Regions from separate parts of the Homo sapiens genome. Here all the other regions are linked to region 1. Evidence: promoter capture Hi-C in 16 types of primary human blood cells and fetal thymus (Javierre and others, 2016). All regions are on one chromosome and are shown on one strand. Each heading gives the region's core, a stretch centred on a gene start or on the middle of the fragment in contact. The rest is flanking DNA. Distances are from core to core; before and after follow the strand shown. Region 1 holds the start of R3HDM1 (R3H domain containing 1). Region 2 overlaps CCNT2 (cyclin T2). Region 3 overlaps MAP3K19 (mitogen-activated protein kinase kinase kinase 19). Region 4 overlaps MAP3K19 (mitogen-activated protein kinase kinase kinase 19).

The links. Contacts are between HindIII fragments. The CHiCAGO score rates a contact against its expected background, and 5 or more counts as called.
Region 2: a fragment that was not itself captured here is called in contact with the fragment with the promoter of R3HDM1 in region 1 in 3 of 17 cell types (erythroblasts, activated CD4 T cells and non-activated CD4 T cells); the score reaches 7.4 in erythroblasts.
Region 3: a fragment that was not itself captured here is called in contact with the fragment with the promoter of R3HDM1 in region 1 in 2 of 17 cell types (endothelial precursors and megakaryocytes); the score reaches 6.1 in endothelial precursors.
Region 4: a fragment that was not itself captured here is called in contact with the fragment with the promoter of R3HDM1 in region 1 in 15 of 17 cell types (megakaryocytes, naive CD4 T cells, fetal thymus and 12 more); the score reaches 17.9 in megakaryocytes.

Annotation. Positions count from the first base shown.
Region 1 is chr2:135,528,496-135,535,010 of GRCh38, reverse strand. R3HDM1 (R3H domain containing 1) reads right to left here and starts at 3,527. Exons shown (of 27, transcript NM_001378107.1): 1 at 3,378-3,527. ZRANB3 (zinc finger RANBP2-type containing 3) reads left to right here and starts at 3,793. Exons shown (of 21, transcript NM_032143.4): 1 at 3,793-3,884. RefSeq lists a silencer at 3,361-3,550 and enhancers at 3,518-3,812, 3,781-4,050, 4,401-4,480. The HindIII fragment of the contact is 3,394 bases long and covers 246-3,639 here.
Region 2 is chr2:134,957,796-134,964,310 of GRCh38, reverse strand. CCNT2 (cyclin T2) reads right to left here. Exons shown (of 9, transcript NM_058241.3): 9 at 4,969-6,515. Among named protein-coding and RNA genes, the nearest start is that of CCNT2, 42 kb to the right of the region's middle. The HindIII fragment of the contact is 2,736 bases long and covers 2,283-5,018 here.
Region 3 is chr2:134,986,578-134,993,092 of GRCh38, reverse strand. It overlaps MAP3K19 (mitogen-activated protein kinase kinase kinase 19), which reads left to right. Exons shown (of 13, transcript NM_025052.5): 9 at 1,513-1,556; 10 at 4,840-6,515. Among named protein-coding and RNA genes, the nearest start is that of MAP3K19, 58 kb to the left of the region's middle. The HindIII fragment of the contact is 3,833 bases long and covers 1,716-5,548 here.
Region 4 is chr2:135,003,625-135,010,139 of GRCh38, reverse strand. It overlaps MAP3K19 (mitogen-activated protein kinase kinase kinase 19), which reads left to right. Exons shown (of 13, transcript NM_025052.5): 6 at 4,609-4,705. Among named protein-coding and RNA genes, the nearest start is that of MAP3K19, 41 kb to the left of the region's middle. The HindIII fragment of the contact is 7,045 bases long and covers 1-6,101 here.

The DNA of each region.
Region 1 (6,515 bases), core at 2,278-4,777:
TTCAAATAGCAATAGTATTTTACAAACCTATCAAGCCTTGTTTATCACTGTAATATTCTCAAGAATGGGAAAAACAAAACTGCTACCAATTTTCACTACTTTATTTCTGAGAAATTAAAACTTAATACTAACTCAAATGGATGTAATTAGGTATATTAAAGTACCAGTTCAAAAAAGAAGAAAAAAAACCCTATTACTTGCAAGGCATGGCAATGCACATCTTCTGCATAATATTTGACAAAGCTTATTTCAAGTTTATATAATTTTCTATTGCTACTGTCATGTAAGACCTCTTTGGAGAAGCACCCATTTGTACCAGGTTCAATGACTTCGGAGGCCCACCATATATATACCTCACCTCGTTATTTTGCATAAGGTGCAGCTTGTCTTGAACCCTGACTGGACATTCCTGTCAGAAAGACTTCATAATATAACTGTCTTCATGCTAACCTTAAATTTGTTTAACTATACAAATTCCAAGAACACTATTATATGTGAAGACTCAGTAAATTTTCAGAAATGCCTCTGAAGAGAAAGGAATAGCACCTCTCACAAGTTGTTTCACAGAAAAGAAACACTCAAGTGTTGATAAATAAGGAGAATTAAAAAGAACAGCAACAAAACTGTAGTCACATATGGTTGTAACAATTTCAAATGATTTGCTTAATCTTAACTCTGTATTAAACAGTTCAAATGTCATCTGGTAGCACAATGAATATGGATAGCAAGTATATAAACTAGAGCTTGAAACATTTAACAGCTAAATAAAATTTAAAAGATATTACAATAGTTAACCACTACATGGAGTACACTAATTTTTATTCCCAATAATCCATTTGAAATGTATTCCACAGACACTTGCATTTTAATTCAAAGTCAAAAAAACTTCCATAAGCTAATCAAAAATAACTAGTCGCAAACTGTGCTTAAGTCACTATATAAATTAATACACCCATGGTACTCTTCAGTAACAGAATGTGTTCTAAGGCTGCAACAACACCCTCAGCATATGAACAACAAACCCATTCTCTAAATATGCATGAAAATAACAGTTAATATTTATTGCACAAACTGTGTCAGGCACAATGCTAGGGGATTTACATACTTTACCTCTAATTTTCTGTTTTCTTTCTTTTTAAGATGGAGTTTCGCTCTTGTTGCCCAGACTGGAGTTCAATGGCCTGATCTCGGCTCACCGCTGCCTCCCAGGTTCAAGCGATTCTCCTGTCTCAGCCTCCCGAGTAGCTGAGATTACAGGTGCCCGCCACCATGAGCGACTAATTTTTTGTATTTTCAGTAGAGACGGGGTTTCTCCATGTTGGTCAGGCTGGTCTCCAACTCCCGACCTCAGGTGATCCGCCCGCCCAGCCTCCCAAAGTGCTGGGATTACAGGTGCGCCAACGCGCCCGGCCACTATTATATATTTATCTCTAATTTTCATAACTCCCTAAGTTAAGCATTATCATCCTCATTTTACAGATGAGGAAACCGAACTGAGGTTCATGGAGGGATCCAACAGCCAGGAAGAAAATGTAGAAGACTCCTAAATTTTCAACAGCTCTTTCTCTATATAAATCACCCAAGATCTGAAAGTATCGATTGTATAATTTATCAATTAACTCTTAAGTTCTGGAAAATACTATGCTGGCAGCTGGCAATATATGTTACAGGAACTCTGTGGGGATCTCAGGGGACTTGCCTTCCAAGGCTGTGTATTTATTTCTTTATTTTTTTGAGACCATGTTCTGCTATATTGCCTAGGCTGGCCTTGAACTCCTGGGCTCAAGTGATCCTCTCACCTCACACTCCTGAGTAGCAGGGACTACAGGTGACTACTACATGACTGGCAATTTTCATTTTTTTAATAGATACCACAAATTTCCTCCAGGACCTGAATGTATCTATGTCAATTCTGTAACTAGGTGTACTAGTTATGGAATACAGAAGATCATTAAGCCACCATAGTCTTCTCAAACCCTGAAGAAATGATCAAAACTCAGATGTTTCCTCAGAACCCAAGTTTATTCTGCTAACAAGTAAACCTCAGAAATGGGCCTAGAATTTTATCTCTGATCACAGTTATGTCTACTACAGACTATAGAATCCATGATTTAAAGACATATTCTTCCAGGCATAAAAGCAGAGTGGTATTTGAAAAGACGAGCGTACTCCATCAAAATGTGATGAAGAAATCATAACAGAATGCCCTAAAAATAGCCAAATATGCCAAATTTTTAGAAATTGAGACGTGTCCAATTATTCCTGTCAGACTGGTATCCTATTACTTAGAAGATCTTGTTTCACATATTATAAATGGGTAGACTTTCAGTTTGACTTTAATCATCTTTTCATTTAAAAGTTTTTGTCATCAATGATATTTAAGCTAAAAAAGGTTTCTTACAGTTACAATTAGGTAAACTATAACCATGAAGATATATATATATATATTTAGAAAATTTTATTAGAAAAACCATTTGCTGTTCACTAATCCTAATTTGGAAAGCACCTCTTCTTCACCTTTTACTTAACTATCCCAGGACAATTACACACGGAGCATGATAGTCCCAATAATTTAAGTTTCTTTATAAAAACAAGCTCAACAGAGTCACCCTTTGCACCTAGTCACAGCAACAAAAGAAAACAAAACACCAAAAAACTTCAAAGCCCACAAAGATTTGTTGGCAGCCTAAGGCTCAGGAATCAAAACGTGTGTAAATCTGATCCCGGGGGACCGTGGCACTGACAGTCATTCAACTTTCTTTTTAATATTCCCATTGTGCTTTTTCTGGTACCACAGGGAAAATGTACCTACATTTTACCAACCGGTCGAAGCTGAAAATTCTCTTGGTGCAAGGCCAGGGGATGCGGCCGTGGGGCGGCCGGGGGAGCCCGGGGCACCGGCGCCAGCCACACGAGAGAGCAGTACCACGCTCTTGGCAGGCCTGCTGTGGCTGGCTCCCGAGTCCCTGGGGCTGCAAGAGCAGCCGCGGAGGCAGCAGCAGCAGCCATGGCAGGGACTCGGAAACCTTTCCCCTGCCTCCTCCGCTAGGCCTCGAGGGGTTTGCTTTTCACATGGCCCCCGGGTGGGGGCGGTGGGCACAAGGCAGTGGCTGCAGCTGCAGCCGGAGCCGCAGCCGCGGGCCAGGCGAGCCTGGCTCACTCGGAACCCGACCTAACGGCGGGCTGGCAGCAGCGGGACGTCAGAAGGCCCTGGCTGAAGCGCCGACGACCCGGCGGGGAAGGCCACCTTTCCACACACCACATCTCTCCCCTGCCTGCCTCCTTCTCCGTTAGCGCTACCGGTTGGCGGGCGGGGGAGGGGAGCAAGGCGCGTTATTCCCGGGGAGCTGGACGGGGGAGGGAAGGGCATCTCTTACCCGCGTTACTGAGGAGGAGGAGGCGGTTGGAGCGCGGCGCGGCGGGGCGACGGCGGGGCTGGGTGGGTGCAAGTAAGAGTCTTACGAAAGGGAATTAACCCCATCACCAGCCCGGACACCGGCTCCAGCGGCAGCCGCGGCTGGCAGAATCCCGCCCCTTCCCACCACGCACTAGCCCCGCCTCTTCGTTCTCTTTGAGCGGCAGCCGACTATTCATAGGTTGTACGTCCCCGGAGTGACATGAGTTTTGCCCAATCAAGCTTGAAAAAAACTGTCTTCTCTCCACCCCTTTACCTCCTCCCAGGCCGCGGAGAGCCGTGCCAAATCTTCCTCCAACCTCAAGAGAAAAAGAACCAATCCGTGGTAAGTAACCGCCCTTGAAGGACGCAAAAGCCAACCAATGGTAAAACTAGGAGGACAGCCATTTTGCCCACTTGTAAAAGAGCTACCTTTTCCCACGAGTTGGAGCCTGAGGTGCGGAGTTTCGTGAGTTTTTACTGACTCGAGGTATTTAAAAGACAACCAGATCTCCTCAGTGGGTATTTATAGTGCTTTTTAGGGGTAAAGGAAAATTATCCTCCATGTGGGGCGAAGTGAGGCATGCTGCTTAAGGGGTTGGCTCCTCCCCTTAGCGCTAACGGGTTCTGAAACGAACACCTGGTTTCTCCAGCTTCAGTGGCGGAGGGCGGGGTGATTGCTCTTTTCGGCCTGGAGCGGACTACGATTCCCAACATGCTTTTCCCCTACTCATAACTTCTCCTCCGTTCACTTGTCGCGGTGCTTGGCTGGAATTGTAGTTCCTGAGAGGTACCCATGCCGCCGCTTCAGCCAATGAAAAGGGACAGAGTTTTGAATGACTTGAAATTAGGGCGGAGAACGAGTTGTCGCGAGGCTGTACAGAGCCCTTTTCGCAACCCTAACGGGAGAGAAGTGATGGAAGAAGGGTAGCCGGAAGAGTTTCCTCAAAATACCATAGGGGTTTTAAATTATTAGTACGTATTTAAACTCATCTACTTTCACGTTGTCCCGTTGAACGTCACTTCCGCTTAGGGGCGGACACGTCCCAAACCTGTGGCGGGAGTTGGAGATTCTGCGGCGAATACGCCAGGTGTGACTGGCTGGAAGTGGCGTGGCTGGCAAGTCGCTAGTTTCTTGCATGGGAGATAAAAAGTTGAACGGAATTTAATGGCATTTTAAGAAAGAGTGGGTGACATGGGATGGGGGTAATTTCCAGGGCCCTTATTACTTTCTCCACCCCGGCCTTCAATCGCGGGCGTCTCGGCCTGCTCGCTATTAGATTGCACGGCTAAATTTGTAGAAAGTACCTCTACTGCCTTTAGTCTTCGCGTGGTCAGTTTGAACTGTAAAGACAGGGCTCCGAAGTTCTGAACTACATTTACAGACACACTTTTTTTTTTTTTTTTTGAGACGGAGTCTTGCTCTGTCCCCAGGCTGGAGTGCAGTGGTGGGATCTTGGCTCACTGATTCACGCCATTCTCCTGTCTCAGCCTCCGGAGTAGCTGGGATTACAGGCGCGCGCCACTCAGCCCAGCTAATTTTTTGTATTTTTAGTAGAGACGGGGTTTCACCATGTTGGCCAGGATGGTCTCGATCTCCTGACCTCGTGATCCGCCCACCTTGGCCTCCCAAAGTGCTGGGATTACAGGCGTGAGCCACCGCGCCCGGCCACAAACACACTTCTAAAGTCAGCTTGGAAGGAAAAGAGTCACAGAAAAGGGCTTTTCTGTTTGAAGGATTGATAATCAAGAGTGGCCCCATCACCACTCTTTGAGTAACGACCATTTATTAAACGAGTGGCAGACAGGCGCGGTGGCTCAGACCTGTAATCCTAGCACTTTGGGAGGCCGAGGCGGGAGGATTACTTGAGGTCAGGAGTTCGAGACCAGCCTGGGCAACATGGTGAAATCTTGTGTCTGCTAAAAACTCACACACACACATTAGCCGGACGTGGTGGCAGAGATCTGTAGGATCTGTAGTCCCAGCTACACGGGAGGCTGAGGCAGGAGAATCGCTTCAACTTCGGAAGTGGTTACAGTGACCCGAGATCGCGCCACTGCACTCCAGCCTCGGGTGACAGAGCGAGACTCCGTCTCAAAACAAAAACAAAAACAAAAAACGTGTGACTACAGGGTGCCAACTATAATACACCGATGAATAAAGGCATCACTAAAAAGATGCCTTTATTCATCGGCCACATGGAGCCCACAGCCTAATAATCTTAGCACGTAAGGCCCTGATTTATGCCTCCTTCAGAGTTCAAGGGCGACTGTATGTATACTTTTGGACATTCCATTTAAGGTACCCAGGAAAACTGATTGAATAAAGAAGATACAAGTTACAGAAAAGGGTTTTTCCCTCCCTATGCGTGTGCCCTTTATTCTTAAACTCTTTGCTTTATTATTTTGACTGAGACTTTCTCAGATAAATTCTAATTCAGTTTACTCCATGATTTTACTGAGATTTTCTCTTATAAATCCTGTTGTATTTATGGTATGAGCGCTTAACACTGTATTGGGTACTATACCAGACTTTGGGTAGAGCAGTGCCTAAAAAGACAGGCTCCTTGTCCAAAAGTTGTGAGGAAGAGAGAGGCTAAACAAAATTGTAATGTCACTTACTGTTTCAATCTCTAAGTCAAGTCTTCTTTAGTCACATTTTGTATGTTTATTTGGTCCCTTCTTTACATTCTACCTTTGGATTAAAATAAGCACGTTTTCCTCTTTGCATTGTTTTTACTAAAGCACTAATCTGTGTCCAATACTAACGAGTGATGTTTGTATACAAAGTAAGATGGTAAATTTTATAGTGTAATCCTGCTAGATATAGGAATGTAACCATACCTTGCAGCAAGACATTTTTGTAGATCTACCAGGCAAAGTGTTGTCTCTTGCTTTTTAATGCAATTAGGATATTCAGTGATAATTTAGCAATGCAGTCTACTGTAGATGCTTAGTTTTTTTTTTTATTTGTTTGTGTCAGGAGTTCTTCCAGTGTAAATCTAGTCACTAAATAGTAATGATGGCCATCATTTTATTGAGTTTCGTCTGAGCCAGAAATGATGTTATGTGTGATAAGTACATTTTCCTTATGACAAACTGTAAGTCTTCTTGACATTTT
Region 2 (6,515 bases), core at 2,401-4,900, 570 kb after region 1:
TTATCAGAGGGCCCCCAAACTCCTCAGATGTCTCTGAGAAATTGTGCTAGTTAAGGCGGCATCATAAACCTTGGGCTCTTTTCTCTGTAATTTATTTGTAGTGATTTGAAGTTTTTAATCTATTTGCAGTGAATCAGGTCATTTCCATATGCAGAACTAGCTAAGTCTAAATCAGCTGGTAGGACAAAAGCTAGGTCTGGTAAGGGAAGGATGATTTTTCCACAGACCTTTGCTCATTTCATTTGAATAGTTACCTCTGCTGAGGTCATCCTTCAAATACTGCCATTCCCAGAACATTAGTAGACCTCACAAAAGTGAGCATGGATGAGTTAGTAGTATTACAAGCCATTTTAAGTTGGTGGATTAAGCAATATTTTTTTTAGACTGAGTCTTACTCTACTGCCCAGGCTGGAGTGCAGTTGCGTTATCTTGGCTCACTGCAACAACCTCCGCCTGCTGGGTTCAAGTGATTCTTTTGCCTCAGCCTCCCAAGTAGCTGGGATTACAGTTGCCCACCACCACGCCCAGCTAATTTTTGTATTTTTTGTGGAAATGGGGTTTCACCATGTTGGCCGAGATGGAGTTTCACTGTGTTGGCCAGGCTGTCTTGAACTCCAGACCTCAAGTGATCCACCTGCCTTGGCCTCCCAAAGTGCTGGGATTACAGGCGTGAGCCATCGTGCCCAGCCAGGATTAAGCATTTTTTATAAGGTTTCCATTGCTGTTGATCTCACTCATCCACTAAACTTCGCACCTATTGTTCTTTTTTTTTATTATTATTATTTGAGATGGAGTCTCACTCTGTTGCCCAGGCTGGAGTGCAGTGGCGTGATCTTGGCTCACCGCAACCTCTGCCACCTGGGTTCAAGCAATTTTCCTGTCTCAGCCTGCCAAGTAGCTGAGATTACTGGGACCTGCCACTGTGCCTGGCTAATTTGTGTAGTTTTAGTAGAGATGGGGTTTCACCATCTTGGCCAGGCTGGTCTTGAACTCCTGACCTCATGATCCACCCGCCTTGGCCTCCCAAAGTGTTGGGATTACAGGCGTGAGCCATCGCGCCCAGCCAGCACCTATTGCTCTAAGCTATAGCCACAGATATTTTTATTGGCTGCCGTCATTTCAAGCTGGTACAACTAAAAATTAACTTTAGGAGTATTCTAATACTGGTATCAGGATTTGTCAAAACAAAGCTGGTTTAGTTTTTATGAAATAAATGTGAAATGCTGTCCAGGTGAGGTAAAAACAGATTTTACTCTGGACATGTAACATTAGATGAGTCTTTGTGGGTATAACTTTTCTCAAATTTTTTTTTCATATTTAAGAAATTAAGGGAAGAATATGTCCTTTATTTTACTTACTTGTATCTCAACATGACCAGAAACAACATAATTTTGAAAGGTTAGGGCTTATTCCTTTTCCATTTTGGAGGGATCTTCAGCATTCTTTCAAATCTGAATATTATATTGGATTTTAAAGCAACTATTTACAATCAAGCCTGTTAAACCCTATGGGGAAAGGGCAAAGAGTAAGACCTGTTAATACTGTGTATAGAGATCACCGTAATGGACACAAGAAGTTGGTGTTAACAAGTTTATTCCTATTCTACTGAAATATAAGGGTACTGAAGACAATTTTGGAATATTGAACAGAAACTTCAAAAAGCTGAAGTTTTGGCCAGGCAGGGTGGCTCACCCCTGTAATCCCAGCACTTTGGGAGGCCGAGGCAGGTGGATCACTTGAGGTCAGGAGTTGGGAGACCAGCCTGGCCAACATGCTGAAACCCCATCTCTACTAAAAATACAAAAAATTAGCTGGGCATGGTGGCGTGTGCCTGTAATCCCAATTACTTGGGAGGCTGAGGCAGGAGAATCGCTTGAACCTGGAAGGAAGAGGTTGCAGTGAGCCGAGATCACACTACTGCACTCCAGCCTGGGCAACAAAAGCGAAACTCCATCTCAAAAAAAAAAAAAAAAAAAAAGCTGAAGTTTTCAATAGGCAAGCCTTGGTCCTCAAAGCTTCTGTGTTTTTGTTATTCACTGTGTTTAAGACATGAACAATTGTTTGGAATTACACTCTTCATTATCACTGCCCATATGTGTGCTCTCTTCCTTTTGAAGAGGGTCTGAAAGGAGGTTGGGAGTGGAGGTAGGTTGGGGCTGGGATGGCTAGCATTCACTGAGCTTTTAGCAGAAAAAGGCACATCATTTCATTCTAGCTGCTGATTGGGATGGTAGTATCGTCCTCCCTTTATTATTTTGAGTACTTTAATGGTGTGAAAAGCTTTTCATTGTTCACCTAGCAGTAATACCGTCCTCCCTTCCATGAGCATCACCCTTTTCCCAAGGCACAACCGCTGAGTTTTCAATCACATTGAAAACTCATCTTATTATGTACTAAATTCCTGTATGCTCTGGGCCCAAGCTCAACCAAAGACATTTTAACCCCCAAGTTCTAAAAAGTAGATCTACAGCATCTCCTTAACTTTAACCTACTTTAGTCGTACACTGTGTAATGAGTAGCTCCAAGATAATAACCCACTTAATCTGCTCAAGGAGCAGCCAAAAGCTGCATACCATCACCTACCAGGCCGTCTTTCTTCTTCATACGAGCTGCACTTACAAGTATTAATTCAGTTTAAAGCAGCTATTTAAATGCAGAAACTTGCATTTTAAAAATCTTTCCAGGTGATTCTGCCAATTAAAAAATCTCTGGTGTAAGCAGCCTCTCTCTCTACTGGTAATAAAGTTTAAAAAAAAGTTTGTATATGCCATTACACTGTCAAGTTTATAGAGGATAGTGCTTTCTCCTATTGACAGGACATCACGACATTATGAAAATCCATGGCTGAATTCATCCATAAAGCAGTCACTAACAGGCTGACGTGAAAGACTATAGAAAACTGGCCTCCTCAACTGTGTCTGAACATTTGAAAGGTCTAAGTAAGCCTCTTAATTTCATGGCAATATAATAAAAATATTTTGTCAGTGAGGCCCTACATTGTTTTGGGAGGTGGTATTGAGGGGAAGGAATAGGCAGGCCATATGCTACAGCTAAAATAAAAACATACAATTTATTATATTGAAAAGTGCAGGGGGCAGGGGTGAAGGAATAAACAATGGACTTAGATGAGTTTGGTTAGATGGAATTACTCACTTTGTAAAGTTAAAACCCATCCAATTTATTATGTTAATAGAACAAGCCCTTACTGGTGTCAGCACCAGTGAGACAAATCTCTTAACTGTGATACAAAAAATATTTATGTTACATTTAGGCTGAAAATGTTTTATTTTTAATTAAAAAAAAATTTTTTTTTTTTTGAGATGGAGTCTTGCTCTGTCGCCTAGGCTGGAGTGCAGTGGCGCTATCTCGGCTCACTGCAACCTCTGCCTCCCAGGCTCAAGCGATTCTCTCCTGCCTCAGCCTCCTGAGTAGCTGGGACTACAGGCGCGCACCACAACGCCCAGCTAATTTTTTTGTATTTTTTAGTAGAGACAGGGTTTCGCCATGTTGGTCAGGCTGTTCTCGAACTCCTCACCTCAGGTGACCCGCCCACCTTGGCCTCAAACTCCCAAAGTGCTGGGATTACAGGCATAAGCCACCGTACCCGGCCTGAAAATCTATTTTAAAAGAAGCGACTTTTCTATCCTAATTCTACTTTATCAAAGTTATTGCAATTAGCTTTCATTTTCTTTCAAGTGGAAGGTGCAGGGAAATTGCTGGTAAGGAGAGGGAAGCTGGCGAGCAGCCTTATTAAAGAACAGCTTATGCTTAAATATTTTTGAAGGGGCCGGGCATGGTGGCTCACACCTGTAATCCTAGCACTTTTGCAGGCCAAGGTGGGCGGATTGCTTGAGCCTAGGAGTTTGAAACCACCCTGGGCAACGTATCAAAACCCCGTTCTACCAAACACAAGAACAACAACAAAACAAAACAAAACAAAACAAACAAAAAAACCACAAAAAAACCCCCCAAAATTAGCCGGGCATGGTGGCACATGCCTGTAGTCCCAGCTACTCAGGAGGCTGAGGTTGGATGATCGCTTGAGCCTGGGAGGCGGAGGCTATAGTAAGCCAAAAATCACACCACTGTACTGTACTCTAGCTTGGCTGACAGTGAGAACTTGTCTCAAAAAATAAAAAATTTTAAATGGGTACTGCAACTATTCTTTGTGCTTTTTATGGGAGTGATGCAAGAGGTTAGACAAGAAAATCTTAAAACAGAAATTAGAATGAACAACTTAAGAGAATTCTGGACACAGCGGGCATGCAGTATTTAATATGTTCCAGTTACACACCTGGATTGGCCTTCATCATTCCAATATCCCACATCTACCCCTCAATTAGGATTCTCTTTAATGCTATTCTATCTAGCCTTCCTTGACCATCCAAGCCTTACACAACTCTATGATGAACAGGTACTACTACTAACACTTTGTAGGGAAGAAAAAGCATGAGATCAAGTAATTCACCCAATGCCATTCTGTTATTAAATGGTAGGGCTGAGACTAGAGCATGGACCATTTGATCCCAGAGCCTGCACTCCTGAATGATACATGAAATTACTTGGATAAAGGGTCAATTATACTAGAGATCTCACATTTTCCAGGGACTGAAAGTTACTTCTGTTTTTGTTGTTGTTAAGGAATCTTGCTCTGTCGCCCAGGCTGGAGTGCAGTGGTGCGATCTCGGGCTCTCTGCAACCTCTGCCTCCTGGGTTCAAGCGATTCTCTTGCCTCAGCCTCCCGAGTAGCTGGGATTACAGGCATGCACCACCACACCCGGCTAATTTTTGTATTTTTAGTAGAGACAGGGTTTCACCATGTTGACCAGGGTTGTGTTGAACTCCTGACCTCAGGTTATCCGCCTGCCTTGGCCTCCCAAAGTGCTGGGATTACAGGCATGAGCCACTGCGCCCCACCTCAAAGTTACTTCTGATTCACATTAACTTAAGACATGTTAGAGCCTTGGATTTATGTTGTCAATAAACATTTTATTAGTTCCTTGTATGGATAAGAAGCTTAAAGTCAATGACTAATTCATGCCATATACACATATTCCTGTTTTAGATTTTCTATTAGCAAACATCCTGTTCAATTGTTGTTGGGAGTTTTGAGTACATTCAGAAAATGAAACCCCACAATCACTGTTTACAACAAATGAGTATGTATTTTTCCTAATAAAATGAAGCTGCTTGAAAAAAACATACCTTAAAATTAAGAATGTACTCATCACTTAATAAGAATGTACTCATTATTAAACAATAGGCAAATCAAACAAACTACTAAAGTGGCAATGCTCGGGATTTTGAGTTTCCGCCCCAAACTTGAAAATAAAGTAGACAGCCCTCAAACTTTGAGATAAATGGATTCCACAGTGAAGTTAAGTTGCCTATACGAGAACAGAATTACTCCTAGCCATTCAATCTTCGATGGATCTTATCAACCTACTTAATCAATCTGTCAGGCAGAATAGGTAACAGTAAATTATAAAGAAGGTGCCACAGAGGTAAAAACTGGCTGTGCCCAAATTGACACTGCAGAGCAGAAAATTAATGTATGATATTAGGTCTAAAACATTTTGAGCTTTTCAGTCCCACTGGCAAAATGTATTACAAAAATAGATGCTCCAGGGAAACTAACAAAAGCAACCTTTTGATTTCGGCTTCCATGTATGTCAGCTTACAGCAATTAGGTTGCTCACTGATTTCTGATATTAACGTATCAGAATGTGATTCTCAAATTAGTATCATAGCTTGGTACCCAAGGTCAGAGAATGTGCTGCTTTTCCAATGCAAAAATCCCTATCTAAATAAGTCCATCTTAGGGCACATGAGATTAGCACCTATTGTCCTGTCAACTCATTTAGTTTAAGTGTGAGATTTGTTGATCCCTCATCTGGGTAAAGGTAGTCAGTGAATCCTACTGTCTCCCTTCAAGACAGCCTCTGAGGCAGTAATCAGGTTAGAAATACTGAATCCATGATTCTTCCTAACAAGAGCCTCCAAATATTCTCAGCAAAGACATCCTAAATTTAAGCAGATATGCTTTTCATTTGGATAAAATTGGAAATGGTGTAATACCTTGAGAGAATGGTTTTCCTAAGACGTTACCATGTTAAAAAAGTCCCCATGTCTATAGAAAATGCAAAACCCTGAAATATCTAATCAACTAACTGTACTCATGAAATGCATAATATTCATGCAGATATAAGCAGTGGTTTATTTCTAAGGTTGCTTAACGAATACAAGTCAGCAATTTAAGTTCTCAAATAGAAAAGAAAATGTGCTTGAAACCTTTTAAGGCAATGGTATTTTGTACTAACAAAAACATTTCATATTGGTTCTCTGAAATAGCCCTCAAGTAGTCATTTCTAGTTCAAAGAGGATAGGCCAAAAAAATTAGGTATTCTATTAATTATTAATACAATCTGTTGCTACAAAGCAATATACGCAGCCACTCATGACATTCAAGAAACCATACATCATGTTAGAAATTTCTTTTAGATGACTCTGAATAA
Region 3 (6,515 bases), core at 2,383-4,882, 540 kb after region 1:
ACCAGCCTGGGCAATACAGTAAGACCCTGTCTATACAAAAAATTAAAAATATAAAAATTTTAAATAAATAAGCAAGGGTGGGGGAAGGAGATTTCACATAAAACCTGCAGCTTGGGTTGGGCGCGGTGGCTCACACCTGTAATCCCAGCACTTTGGGAGGCCGAGGCCGGTGGATCACGAGGTCAAGTGTTCGAGACCAGCCTAGCCAACATAGTGAAACCCCGTGTCTACTAAAAAATAAAAAATACACAAAAAATTAGCCGGGCATGATGGCAGGTGCCTGTAATCCCAGCTTCTCGGGAGGCTGAGGCAGGAGAATTGCTTGAACCCAGGAGGTGGAGGTTGCAGCGAGCTGAGATCATGCCACTATACTCCAGCCTGGGCGACAGAGCGAGACCCTGTCTCAAAAAAAAAAAATCTGCAGCTCTCTGGCTTCTTTTGGAAGATGTAGCAGGGCTGGACTATCTATCTGGGTTGGATAACATCACTGCGAGCTGGGTAATGATGCCCCTTTAGTTGGGCATATGATCTCGATTTACTGCTGTGTCTTCCTGTCCCACATCATCCATTTCTGTGAACTGTTTTGACCCTGGAGACACTGGAGCTTTTGGCTTCAGCTTTAGAAAGTCCAAACTATGCAGAAGTGGTGGTGGTGGTGGTTCATGGGGTTTTGGGGATCATTCTGACTTTTTGGTAAGAAGAGAACAACTTGTAAGTTTTATACTACCTAGTAAGTCCCATCTCGTTCCCTAGGTGAGTCTTCCTCACACTCACCTTTCAGAGTTTATGGTCGATCTAGTTTAAACAACTGTTGGGAGACACTTATACAAGAATATTTTCACATTTCTGCACAGTTCAGGCTTTCTAAGCAAAAAACACTAGGAAACTAAGTTAAAAGATGACTGAATGTCAGAAACGCCTCCGAAGTTAGTGTATTGCTCCAGAGAAATTTAGAGGCTGATTTTCCCAAAAGCTGTTTGCTTATATTCTAGGGTAATAAAACATAGAGTCATCTTTCTCCTGGAGGCATTTGCTTACAATTCATAGTAAAGTGCTCTCTCCTTCTCTGGAGGGAAAGATGGGCTAAAGTGCCACCACCCAATATACCACCTGAGTCTCATCATTCCAGAGCTCCCTCCTGTGATGCAGCTCTGCCAGCTGTGCAGGTCAACACCCGGCTCTCATCACGTTGCCCTGTGAGGAACTGGGTTGTGGGGAACTGGCATTACAATGTTCTGTGAGTGATAAATGGTCTGCTCTCTGGTCCAGAGATCTCAGGTTTTCTGTCAGAATAGAGATATAAATATAAAACAGCAACCCCTGCTAGTGGCAGCAGCCTGAAGTTTTGTGTGATGATTCCACCTCTGTGTGAATTCCACAGGGGAAACCTCCAATTTCTACAACTTTTCCTCAGACCCCTTAGCATCTGTATTACTCCATCCCCAGACTCTGGCTTGAGACTGTTTTCTTTCTACTACTAAGAATATCCAGTTATTGTTTTTCTTGTTGTAGAGTTTTCGACCTCTCATATGAAGTACAGTGGCCGAAGCATCAAGGTAAGATTAGTGCTAGCATTTTTGACTTGAGAATTAAAACCAAACAACTCTATTCACTAATTTAGAACCAAATCCTCAGCAATTACACTTGACCCTTCAACAATGCAGGGGGTAGGGTCACTGATGTCCCCAACACAGTCAAAAATCCACACATAAGCTTTGATTCCCCCAAAACTTAGCTACTAATAGCCTACCGGTTGTTTTGTTTTGTTTTGTTTTGTTTTGTTTTGTTTTTTGAGACAGAGTCTCACTCTGTCACCCAGGCTAGAGTGCAGTGGTGCAATCTCGGCTCACTGCAAGCTCCGCCTCCCGGGTTCACGCCATTCTCCTGCCTCAGCCTCCCGAGTAGCTGGGACTACACGCACCCGCCACCACGCCCGGCTAATTTTTTGTATTTTTAGTAGAGACGGGGTTTCTCCATGTTAGCCAGGATGGTCTCGATCTCCTGACCTCGTGATCCGCCCGCCTCGGCCTCCCAAAGTGCTGGGTGTTCTGTTTTGTTTTGTTTAGAGACAGGGTCTCGCTATGTTGGCCACGTTGGTCTTGAACTCCTGGCCTCAAGCAATACTCCCCCTTAGCCTCCCAAAGTGCTAGGGTTACAGATGTTAGCCACCGCACATGGCTGCAGTAGCCTACTGTTGACCAGAGCCTTATAGATAACATAAACAGTTGATTAACACACACATTTTGTGTTATATGTATTATATGCTGTATTCTTACAATAAAGCCAAGAAAATAAAATGTTATTAAGAAAATCATAAGGGGCCAGGTGTGGTGGCTCACGCCTTAATCCCAGCACTTTGGGAGGCCAAGGCGGGTGGTTCACGAGGATAAGAGATCGAAACCATCCTGGCCAACATGGTGAAACTCCGTCTCTACTAAAATACAAAACATTAGCTGGGCATGGTGGCGGGTGCCTGTAGTCCCAGCTACTCGGGAGGCTGAGGCAGGAGAATTGCTTGAACCTGGAAGGTGGAGGTTGCAGTGACCCGACATCATGCCACCGGACTCCAGCCTGGCAACAGAGCAAGACTCCGTCTCAAAAATAAAACAAACAAACAAACAAAAAAAAAAAACAAAAAAAGAAAATCATAAGGAAGAGAAAATATATTTACTCTTCATTAAGTGGAAGTGGATCACCATAAAGGTCTTCATCCTCACTGTCTTCATGTTGAATAGGCTGAGGACGAGGAGGAACAGGAGGGCTTGGTCGTGCTGTCACAGAGGTAGCAGAGGAGGAAGAAAATCCACATATAGGTGGACTTGCGTAGTTTGAAGCCCTGTTGTTCAAGGGTCAACTGTATTTCTTGGAAAAACAACAACTCACATATAGTTCCTAGAGTAGCAAATCGTTCCTGGGAAAATTATGCCTTGCCATGTGCAGTGCTTTTCTGGAGTGTTTCTGTTCTTTACATAATGAGCTGAGTAGCTCCCTTAGACATTTTTTTTTTTTTGAGACAGAGTCTCACTCTGTTGCCCAGGCTGGAGTGCAGTTGGCACAATCTCGGCTCACTGCAACCACCACCTCCTGGGTTCAAGCGTTTCTCCTGCCTCAGCCTCCTGAGTAGCTGGGATTACAGGCACCTGCCACCACACCCAGCTAATTTTTGTATTTTTAGTAGAGATGGGGTTTCACCATGTTGGTCAGGTGGGTCTTGAACTCCTGACCTTGAGTGATCCGATTGCCTCGGCCTCCCAAAGTGCTGGGATTACAGGTGTGAGCCACCACACCTGGCCAGACATATTTTAATTTGTCTTTTTTCAACCTATTTAGAAATTAGGCAATTCTTTTCTTTCCCCCAGTGGTGGAAAGATTTTCCTAGCTGTCTAATTTATAAGTTTTTGGAAAGATATTTGCAATTCTTAGTTTCTCAACTACCTGACCCTTCTTTTCCTATGAGCCTTTGAGAAATACTTATGCATAGGTACTGCTTAGCATTGTAAAAGGAGTTTATTGACCTAAAAAATTGTAATGGCTGTTACTAGGCAGATGGTTAAGCACTGGATGAATCTGCCTTTATGTCCTAAGTCATTTTTGAGAAATGAGGAAAATCATCTAGACAGTAAAACTGGGGTCTACACTACATCTCATCTACTTTTAATGCCTAAGTTTCTAGAGTCAGGTTCCATTTCCTTCCTTCTTACACACAGGTGGCAATAGAATGAAAATTAAACATACATTTCTCAATTACTACCCATGACCCATGCCTATAAATATTGTGATATAAATAGGTATTGAATCTGTATACACAGGAAAAGACCACAATGAAAAGAAGCATAAAGTTAAGGAGTTTATAGCTTACTGCCCGCAAAGTTTAATATTATACATTGGGTTACACTGACCTCTACAGGATGATAATAAAAACTAGCTTAGTTTGAAACTAGAGGAGGGCAAAGGAGAAAGGAAAAACTAGCTTAGTTTGAAACTAGAGGGCAAAGGAGAAAGGAAAGCCATCCATTTGCCTGTCATCCACAAAAATGAAATTTTGTACATTTCATTCACAAACTAATTCAGCAAAACGATGGTGAGTAGTTGTGTTTCGGATATGAATTCTGAGTTAGTCAATAACTGGTAATTTTTGAGGTATTTTAACAGCAATTTTAAACTGTTTTCAGTGGGATTTCAAAAATCTTAAATCAATTCTATGGAAAGTAAAAAGAAAAAAGAAGAGAAATAAAATGCTTCTTATCTTAAATTTTTACCATTTACATTATAGGGCCTTCATTTAAAAATATATAACCATGAATATTTACATCTATAATAATCCTGGTTTTAAAACGTGTTGTTTTAAATTGGTTCTAAAAAAAATATTGGGAATGAGGTTTTAATTTTAAAAATTGTGATCTTTCCAGGCATAGTGGCTCATGCCTGTAATTCCAGCATTTTGGGAGGCAGAAGTGGGAGGATTGCTTGAGGCCAGGAGTTTGAGACCAGCCTGGGCAACATAGAGAGACCTTGTCTCTACTAAAATTTAAACATTAGCCGAGCATAGTGGCACATGCCTGCAGTCCCAGCTACTTGGGAGGCTGAGGTGGGAGGATCGCTTGAGCCCAGGAAGTCAAGGCTGCAATGAGCTGTGATTATGCCACTGCACCCCAGCCTGGGTGACAGAGCGAGATCTTGTCTCAAGAAGAAAAAAAAGAATTGTGATTTCCAGGATAGCTTTGAACTTTAAAAGCCTTCCTTAAGAGGATATTATAATCTCTTTAGACTACTTTAAACGAGTTAGCGTGATATTTATATATGTTTCTGCATTCACAGCTTTTTCTGTCTTCCTTTTAGTTCCTTCTGCCACCACTGTCACTCTTGCCCACGCGATCTGGTGTCCTTACTATCCCCCAAAATCACAAGTTTCCAAAAGAAAAAGAAAGAAACATTCCAAGTCTCACATCTTTTGTGCCTAAGCTCTCAGTGTCTGTTCGTCAATCTGATGAGCTCAGCCCATCAAACGAGCCTCCGGGAGCCCTAGTTAAGTCGTTGATGGATCCGACTCTCAGGTCTTCTGATGGCTTCATTTGGTCAAGAAACATGTGCTCTTTTCCTAAGACTAACCATCACAGGCAATGCCTGGAGAAGGAGGAAAACTGGAAATCCAAGGAAATAGAAGAATGTAACAAAATTGAAATCACTCACTTTGAAAAAGGGCAGTCTTTGGTGTCTTTTGAGAATTTGAAGGAAGGCAATATTCCTGCAGTTAGGGAAGAGGATATTGACTGCCATGGTAGTAAAACGCGAAAACCTGAAGAAGAGAACTCTCAATATCTTTCATCAAGAAAGAATGAGAGTTCAGTAGCCAAAAACTATGAACAAGATCCAGAAATAGTATGTACCATTCCAAGCAAGTTCCAAGAAACCCAGCATTCAGAAATAACTCCAAGCCAGGATGAAGAGATGAGAAATAATAAAGCTGCTTCAAAAAGAGTTTCATTACATAAAAATGAAGCAATGGAACCAAACAATATTTTAGAAGAGTGTACTGTACTTAAAAGCTTATCCAGTGTAGTCTTTGATGACCCCATTGATAAACTCCCAGAAGGTTGTAGCAGCATGGAGACAAACATAAAAATATCAATAGCAGAAAGAGCCAAACCAGAAATGAGTAGGATGGTGCCTCTTATCCACATCACCTTCCCTGTGGATGGAAGCCCCAAGGAACCAGTGATAGCCAAACCAAGCCTCCAAACAAGAAAGGGAACCATTCATAACAACCATAGTGTCAACATACCTGTACACCAAGAAAATGACAAGCATAAGATGAATTCCCATAGGAGTAAGTTGGATTCAAAGACCAAGACAAGTAAGAAGACACCTCAGAATTTTGTGATTTCTACTGAAGGTCCCATTAAGCCTACCATGCATAAAACCAGCATAAAAACACAAATTTTCCCGGCTTTGGGACTTGTGGACCCCAGGCCTTGGCAATTGCCCAGGTTTCAAAAGAAAATGCCACAGATAGCAAAGAAGCAATCAACTCACCGGACTCAGAAACCTAAAAAGCAATCATTTCCTTGCATCTGTAAAAATCCAGGAACACAGAAGTCATGTGTTCCTCTCTCTGTTCAACCGACAGAGCCAAGACTAAATTACCTAGATCTTAAGTATAGTGATATGTTCAAAGAAATCAATTCAACTGCTAATGGACCTGGAATCTATGAAATGTTTGGGACCCCTGTTTATTGTCATGTGCGAGAGACTGAAAGGGATGAAAACACGTATTACCGTGAGATATGTTCGGCTCCATCAGGCAGACGTATCACCAATAAATGTCGATCTTCACACAGTGAGAGGAAGAGCAATATCAGAACAAGACTTTCTCAGAAAAAAACACATATGAAATGCCCAAAGACTTCATTTGGCATTAAACAAGAGCACAAAGTCTTAATTTCTAAAGAAAAGAGTTCCAAGGCTGTACATAGCAACCTACATGACATTGAAAATGGTGATGGTATTTCAGAACC
Region 4 (6,515 bases), core at 1,330-3,829, 520 kb after region 1:
CTTTATTTTGCTCATTAATTCTTTTTTTTTTTCTGGTTCTTGTTGAAATTCATTGTTTCAAACTTTTCATGCTAACAAGATCACTGAGTGGTCACAACCTCTGGACCCAGATTTCACAGTCTGGGTGTAAATTCTGGCTCTGCCACTGGCTAGCTGTGTGACCTCGTGTAAGCTACTTAACTTTTCTGGGCCTCAGGTACAAAATGAAGATAATAGATCCTAACTTTAGAGTTGTGAGGATTAAATTAGTTAACCCATTTATGCTTAGTGTTCCATTATTGGAACGGTGAGCTTGTGGGGGTTATTTATATCCCACTGCTCAAGGTCATTGCCAAGGTCTGATTTTTCACACAAAAAAATTTGCAACCTCCGAGATAAATGGGTTAATATGTGTAACGCATATAGAACAGTGTCTGGTACTATATATGTAAATGCTAGTCATCATTATGGATTTTGTAGGTGGGTATGACCACACTGCCGGCTTCCAACTTTTCCTACAGGACCAACTGACAAATGAACTGAGTAGCTGAGATTGACCACAGCCCAGTAATCAACATGGAAACTTGATGTGAGAACCTGCTGTATGACTAACACTTCCAAATGAAGGCTGCTGTTTTCTCAAAGCTCAGCATAAAAATTTCACTGAATCACTGTAATTAAATGAAATGGTAGAAATGTGTTTTGAGGTCTCTTAGAGTGTTCTAGACTAAGGATCTACACAAAAACTATATATAATACTAAAAAAGAAAAATTCAAATGACCCATAAGCATCTAAAACTATCTCCAACTTTTCTATTAATCAAAGTATGAACATTCAAACAATAATAAGAAGACCAATTCCATCTATTACATTAAATATAATAAAATGAAAAGTCGGCCAGACGTGGTGGCAGGTGCCTGTAATCCCAGCTCTTTGGGAGGCAGAGGGAGGTGGATTACTTGAGATCAGGAGATCGAGACCAGCCTGGTAAACATATTGAAACGCCATCTCTACTAAAAATACAAAAAAAAAAAAAAAAAATTAGCCAGGCATGGTGGTGGGCACCTGTAACCCCAGCTACTTGGGAGGCTAAGGCAGGAGAATCGCTTGAACCTGGAAGGTGGAGTTTGCAGTGAGCCGAGATTGCACCACAGCACTCCAGCCTGGGCAACAGAGCAAGACTCTGTCTCAAAAAATAAAAAATAAAATGAAAAGGGGCAGGGCATGGTGGTACATACTTATAGTTCCAGCTACTCAGGAGGCTGAGGTGGGAGGATCACCTGAGCCCAGGAGTTCAAGGCTGCAGTGAGCCATGATAGTGCCACTGCATTCCAGCCTGTGTGCCAGAGTGAGACACTGCCTCAAAATAATAACAATAATCATATAAACACCTGTGAAAAGAAGGGAAAACAATAATAATTAATTAATTAATTAAATGAAAAGGAATGATGATAAGGGAGAAGATATGATATAGCACATTCATGCACTGCTGGTGGATTATAAATAGGGATAAACTTTACTTTTAAGGCAATGTGTGTACAAAAAAACAACTTTTTCATAGTATTTGGGTCAATAATTCCATATCTAGGGATCTACTCTAAAGAAATAATGCAAAATTGGGGTATTAGTTGCAAATATTTAATAATACTATGTGTAAGAGTGAAGAATTTTAAATTACCTACTAAGCATCATGGGAGTTACATTGTAAGACTAACGGGGCTTATTAAAGAAGTACTATTGGCTGAGCGTGGTGGCTCACGCCTGTAATCCCAGCACTTTGGGAGGCCGAGGCAGGCAGATCACGAGGTCAGAAGTTTGAGACCAGCCTGGCCAGCATGGTGAAACCTCGTCTCTACTAAAAATACAAAAATAAGGCGGGCATGGTGGCGGGTGCCTGTAGTCTCAGCTACTCGAGAGGTTGAGACAGGAGAATCTCTTGAACCCGGGAGGTGGAGGTTGCAGTGAGCTGAGGTCGCACCACTGCACTCCAGCCTGGGCGACAGAGCAAGACTCCATCTCAAAAAAAAAAAAGAAGTACTGTTATGACCCTCTGATATTTGTTGAAGGAAAGAAATTTTAAATTCCATTAAAATTAAAATGACACTTACTTAGTAAATTGCTTATGAATTTACACTTAAGTGAAAAAGCCAGATACAAAAATTATGTGATGCAACTATATTTTTAAATACTTAAGAGAAACACAAAGAAAATATGATTCCTGTGTTAACAGTGTTTGCTCTTTGGTTGTCAGGTTATAGGTGATTTTTTAAATTTTGCTTTAAAAAATACTTTTTTGTATTTTTGTATGTTCTAGGAAGAATAAATCCCCCTTTGTGATTTGATAGGAAGGAGGAGGAATTTGCCAGATAATGGTAGAATTTTTGAAATACAGAGAAGGTTAAGCAGTGAAATTGACAACAGCCTAGGAGCTGAGTGAACCCATCCGCCATTGACAACCAGGATAGTCTGAGGTAGGGCACCCAACTTTTGCCAGGAGATAGAAAACGCTTTAGAAAGTATTAATAAGGGTAGTGGGGAGTAGGGAGGAAGGGGGATGGTTAATGGGTACAAAAAAAAATAGCTAGAAAGAATGAATAATCAACCCAATGAGAGAACAAAAAGAAAAAAAAAGGAAAAGAAAGAGTAAGAACTAGTACTGATAGCACAACAGGGTGACTATAGTAATAATTTAATTGTACGTTTAAAAATAACTAAAAGTATAATTGAATCATTTGTAACACAAAGGATAAATGCTTGATGTGATGAATACTCCATTTACCCTGATGTCATTATTATGCATTGCATGCCTATATCAAAATATCTCCTGTATCCCATAAATATATATACCTATGTACCCATAAAAATTAAAAAACAATGTTTAAGTATAAACTGCTGAATAAAAGTAAGGTATGACAACTAAGTTATTATGATTGAATACCTAAAATATTTTTAATGACTGTATAAATGGAGGGTTTTACTTCTGGTTTTTTTTTTTGAGACAGGGTCTCACTCAGTTGCCCAGGCTGGAGTGCAGTGGTGCAATCATGGCTCACTGCAGCCTCAACCTCCTATGGCTCAAATGATCCTCGCACCTCAGCCTCCTGAGTAGTTGGGACTACAGGCACGTGCCACCATGCCTGGCTAATTTTTGTATTTTTTGTAGAGATGGGGCTTCACCATGTTGTCCAGGCTGGCCTCAAGCAATCCACCCATCTCGGCCTCCCAAAGTGCTAGGATTATAGGTGTGACTCACCATGCCTGGCCAGGTTTTACTTTTATTTCCTTTTTCTTTTCTTCTTCTTTTCTTTTTTCTCTCTCTCTCTTTCTCTCTCTCTTTTCTTTTCTTTCTTTTGACAGGGTCTCACTCTGTCACCCAGGCTGGAGTGCAGTGGCGTGACCCTAGCTCACCATAGCCTTGACCTCCCGGGTTCAAGCCATCCTCCTGCCTCAGCCTGCCAAGTAGCTGGGACAACAGGGGTGTGCCATCACGTCCAGCTAATTTTTGTATTTTCAGTAGAGACAGGGTTTTGCCATGTTGCCCAGGCTGGTCTCGAACTCCTGAGCTCAAGTGATCCACCCGCCTCAGCCTCCCAAAGTGCTGGGATTACAGGAGTGAACCACCATGCCTGGCCAACTTTTATTATTTGCTACGACAATTAAAATGAACAAGGAGAGAAAAGCAAGAAATTTCCTAGCTCTCTTGGGAATTAATAAATGAGCTATCAGAGAATTTTTGTGACTCGCCACTTCTCTGACATTTCAGATGACAGGCTTGAGCACTTAGGGCAAAGACTTATTGTCCATCAGTCCCCTTAAATAGGTAGTCCACCTAGATCATAGAAACCAGACAGATAGTTGTAACATTCGGGTTGTGATGGGATGTTTTAACTATTACTTGGATCTATCATGGTTCTAGAAATTTAAAGGCACAAAATCATCAGCTATAACTTCGAATGAAGGAAACTATCAAAAACAATGAATTCTACTAAGAAAACATTTCTTCTTTAAAATGTTTGGAGTACTTTTTGTAAATCAAGTTGGTTTTCAACTATAATGATTATTTTCTAGAGAGTGAAAAGGAAGTTTAAGAGGTTATGCACCATGATTTAGATCAGAACGCCGTCATAGGGAAGACTTTAATCAGCTTTGCTGCCTCCTTTCAGTCTAGGGTTATATCTGTAGCTTCCACAGGGGCAGGGATTTCCATTCTTGCCATATGTAAATGATGCCCCAGGGAGGCATTATGGAAAAGATCATGCTCCTTTGGGGTTGTTCACTGTGACTGTGGCCAAAGGATTCTTTCCAGTTACCTACCCAGATGGAATTTGGGGCAGCTTAGCAGCCTGGGCACTGAGATGATAAAGTATAAAATACTGAGTTTCTATGTGTCGATGTGATTTCAGCTTTGCTCCTCATTTTTGATTATGCAATTAATCACAACCATGACTGTCTGAGCCTAGTGCTCCAAGGGCAGATACTTTCTTATTATTTTAGTCCTAAATACTTTATCCAATTTAAAAGGAATCCATGGTGTAAATCTTTAGCCCAGAAAAATCAACATTCACTCTGCCAACAAACTGGTACATCGAATAACTAATAACTGAGTTTTGAATTTTATGATATTGCAGGAGTTCGACCAAGATGGTGACTGCAGTCATTCCACACTGGTTAATGAAGAAGAAGATCCCAGTGGTGGTAGACAGGACTGGCAACCCAGGACAGAAGGTACTGGGCTTTACTCCTTGATGTGTTTACAAAGATAACATTATCATATGGGCTTCTCTCCAATTTCAGAAGGGCTTATTGTAGAAGTTTGAACAACATACACTGGAGCCTATCAGAGGGTAGAGGGAGTGGAGGAGGGAGAGGATCAGGAAAAATAATTAATGGGTACTAGGCTTAATACCTGGGTGATAAAATAATTTGTACAACAAACCCCATGATACATGTTTACCTATGGAACAAACCTGCACTTGTACCCCTGAGCTTAACTCTTGCAATAAAAGTTAAAAAAATTATAATAAATAAGTTTGAAAACACAGAAAAAGCCCAAAGGAGAAGAAAAACCACTCACAATACTACCTTTTGGTCCATATCTGAATCAGTGGGTCTAGGCAGCTTGACTGGCCAGAATAGGCAAATGCTCTCTGGCTCTTTTATTCCACCTCACTCCAGCTCAGCCGACCCATTCCCTGTCCATTTCTTTTTGTCTGATAACATCCTTTCCCCAATTTCTTCCTCTCAGAATCTTCCAGCGGCTTCAGTGATCGGTTCCCTTCCGGAACCACACGTGTCTCCATGAGCCGTTGTCCCTGAGGGGAAGGTGGGGGAGTGTACGAGACCTGAAAGTCCCCAAGTCTCGGTCTTTTATTTACAAGGCCATAAGTCTGGAATCTTCCAGAACACCACCCATTTCAAACATGTTATCCTGTCACACCGTAAGTGCCCTTGCACTTAACAGACCACAAGGTATTTGCAGATTCTCGCCTCAGAGCATAGTTGCCACGGCTATCCCATTTGTCTGTCATCTATTCATCCATAACCTTCTTAAAGTAAATGTTTATTTGAACTGCTGCAATTTCTCCCGGGCAATCTTCTGGCTTCTATTTCTAGCACTCCAGGGAAGCCGCCCTCTTTGATGCCCGTGTTTCTCATCCCTTCGCACCTCTCAGAAGGCTGCAGCTCTCCCGAGTAGCGTCTCCTCCGGGAGGTGGTGCGATGCTGCCCTCTCCTGGGCAGCCGCCTGCCTTTCTCACGCCCACTGGGAATCTTCCCTCCCCAGGCTGAGGGCCGAGAGTAATTTAGTAACCATTAAAATTATGAAAACCATTAAGCCTGAAAGAGCTAACAGAAAGAAAATAAACCCCGAAACCCTTCAGAACGGTCCTTGCAGTCCTCCTTCGACTTTCATAGACTTCAAAGCCAAGCTCTTAGAAGCCTAATGGTGTCCCAAGCACCTTCCAGGAGGTTAAATATTTCATTTATTCTGCTCCATATGGAGATAACTCACCATTTGGGATGTTAGTCATTCTTTTAAACTTGATTTGCAATATTTTCAGTTTTCATATGGGAGCCATAATACTTATGAGGCATCTCCACTAAGTTATTTCAGTTTTAAGCTTTTAACAACTTGAGTTACACATTTGGAAGAAGCAATTCTCTTCCTGATAAAATTGCATCTCACAGTTGATAGAGACTTCAGTTGAGCTAGCTACTCTTTCTAATCAGAAATTCTGAAATAAAAGTGTTTTAGATATTATTGTCCATTATATTCATTTTAAATATCGGTTTAAATCTCTTTAAATGGACCGGGCACTGTGGCTCACGCCTGTAATCCCAGCACTTTGGGAGGCCAAGGTGGGCGGATCACCTGAGGTCAGGAGTTCAAGACCAGCCTGGACAACATGGTGAAACCCCGTCTCTACTAAAAATACAAAATTAGCCGGGTGTGGTGGTGCGCACCTGTAATCCCAGCTACTCGGGAGGCTGAGGCAGAAGAATCGTTTGAACCCGGGAGGCGGAGGTTGCAGTGAGC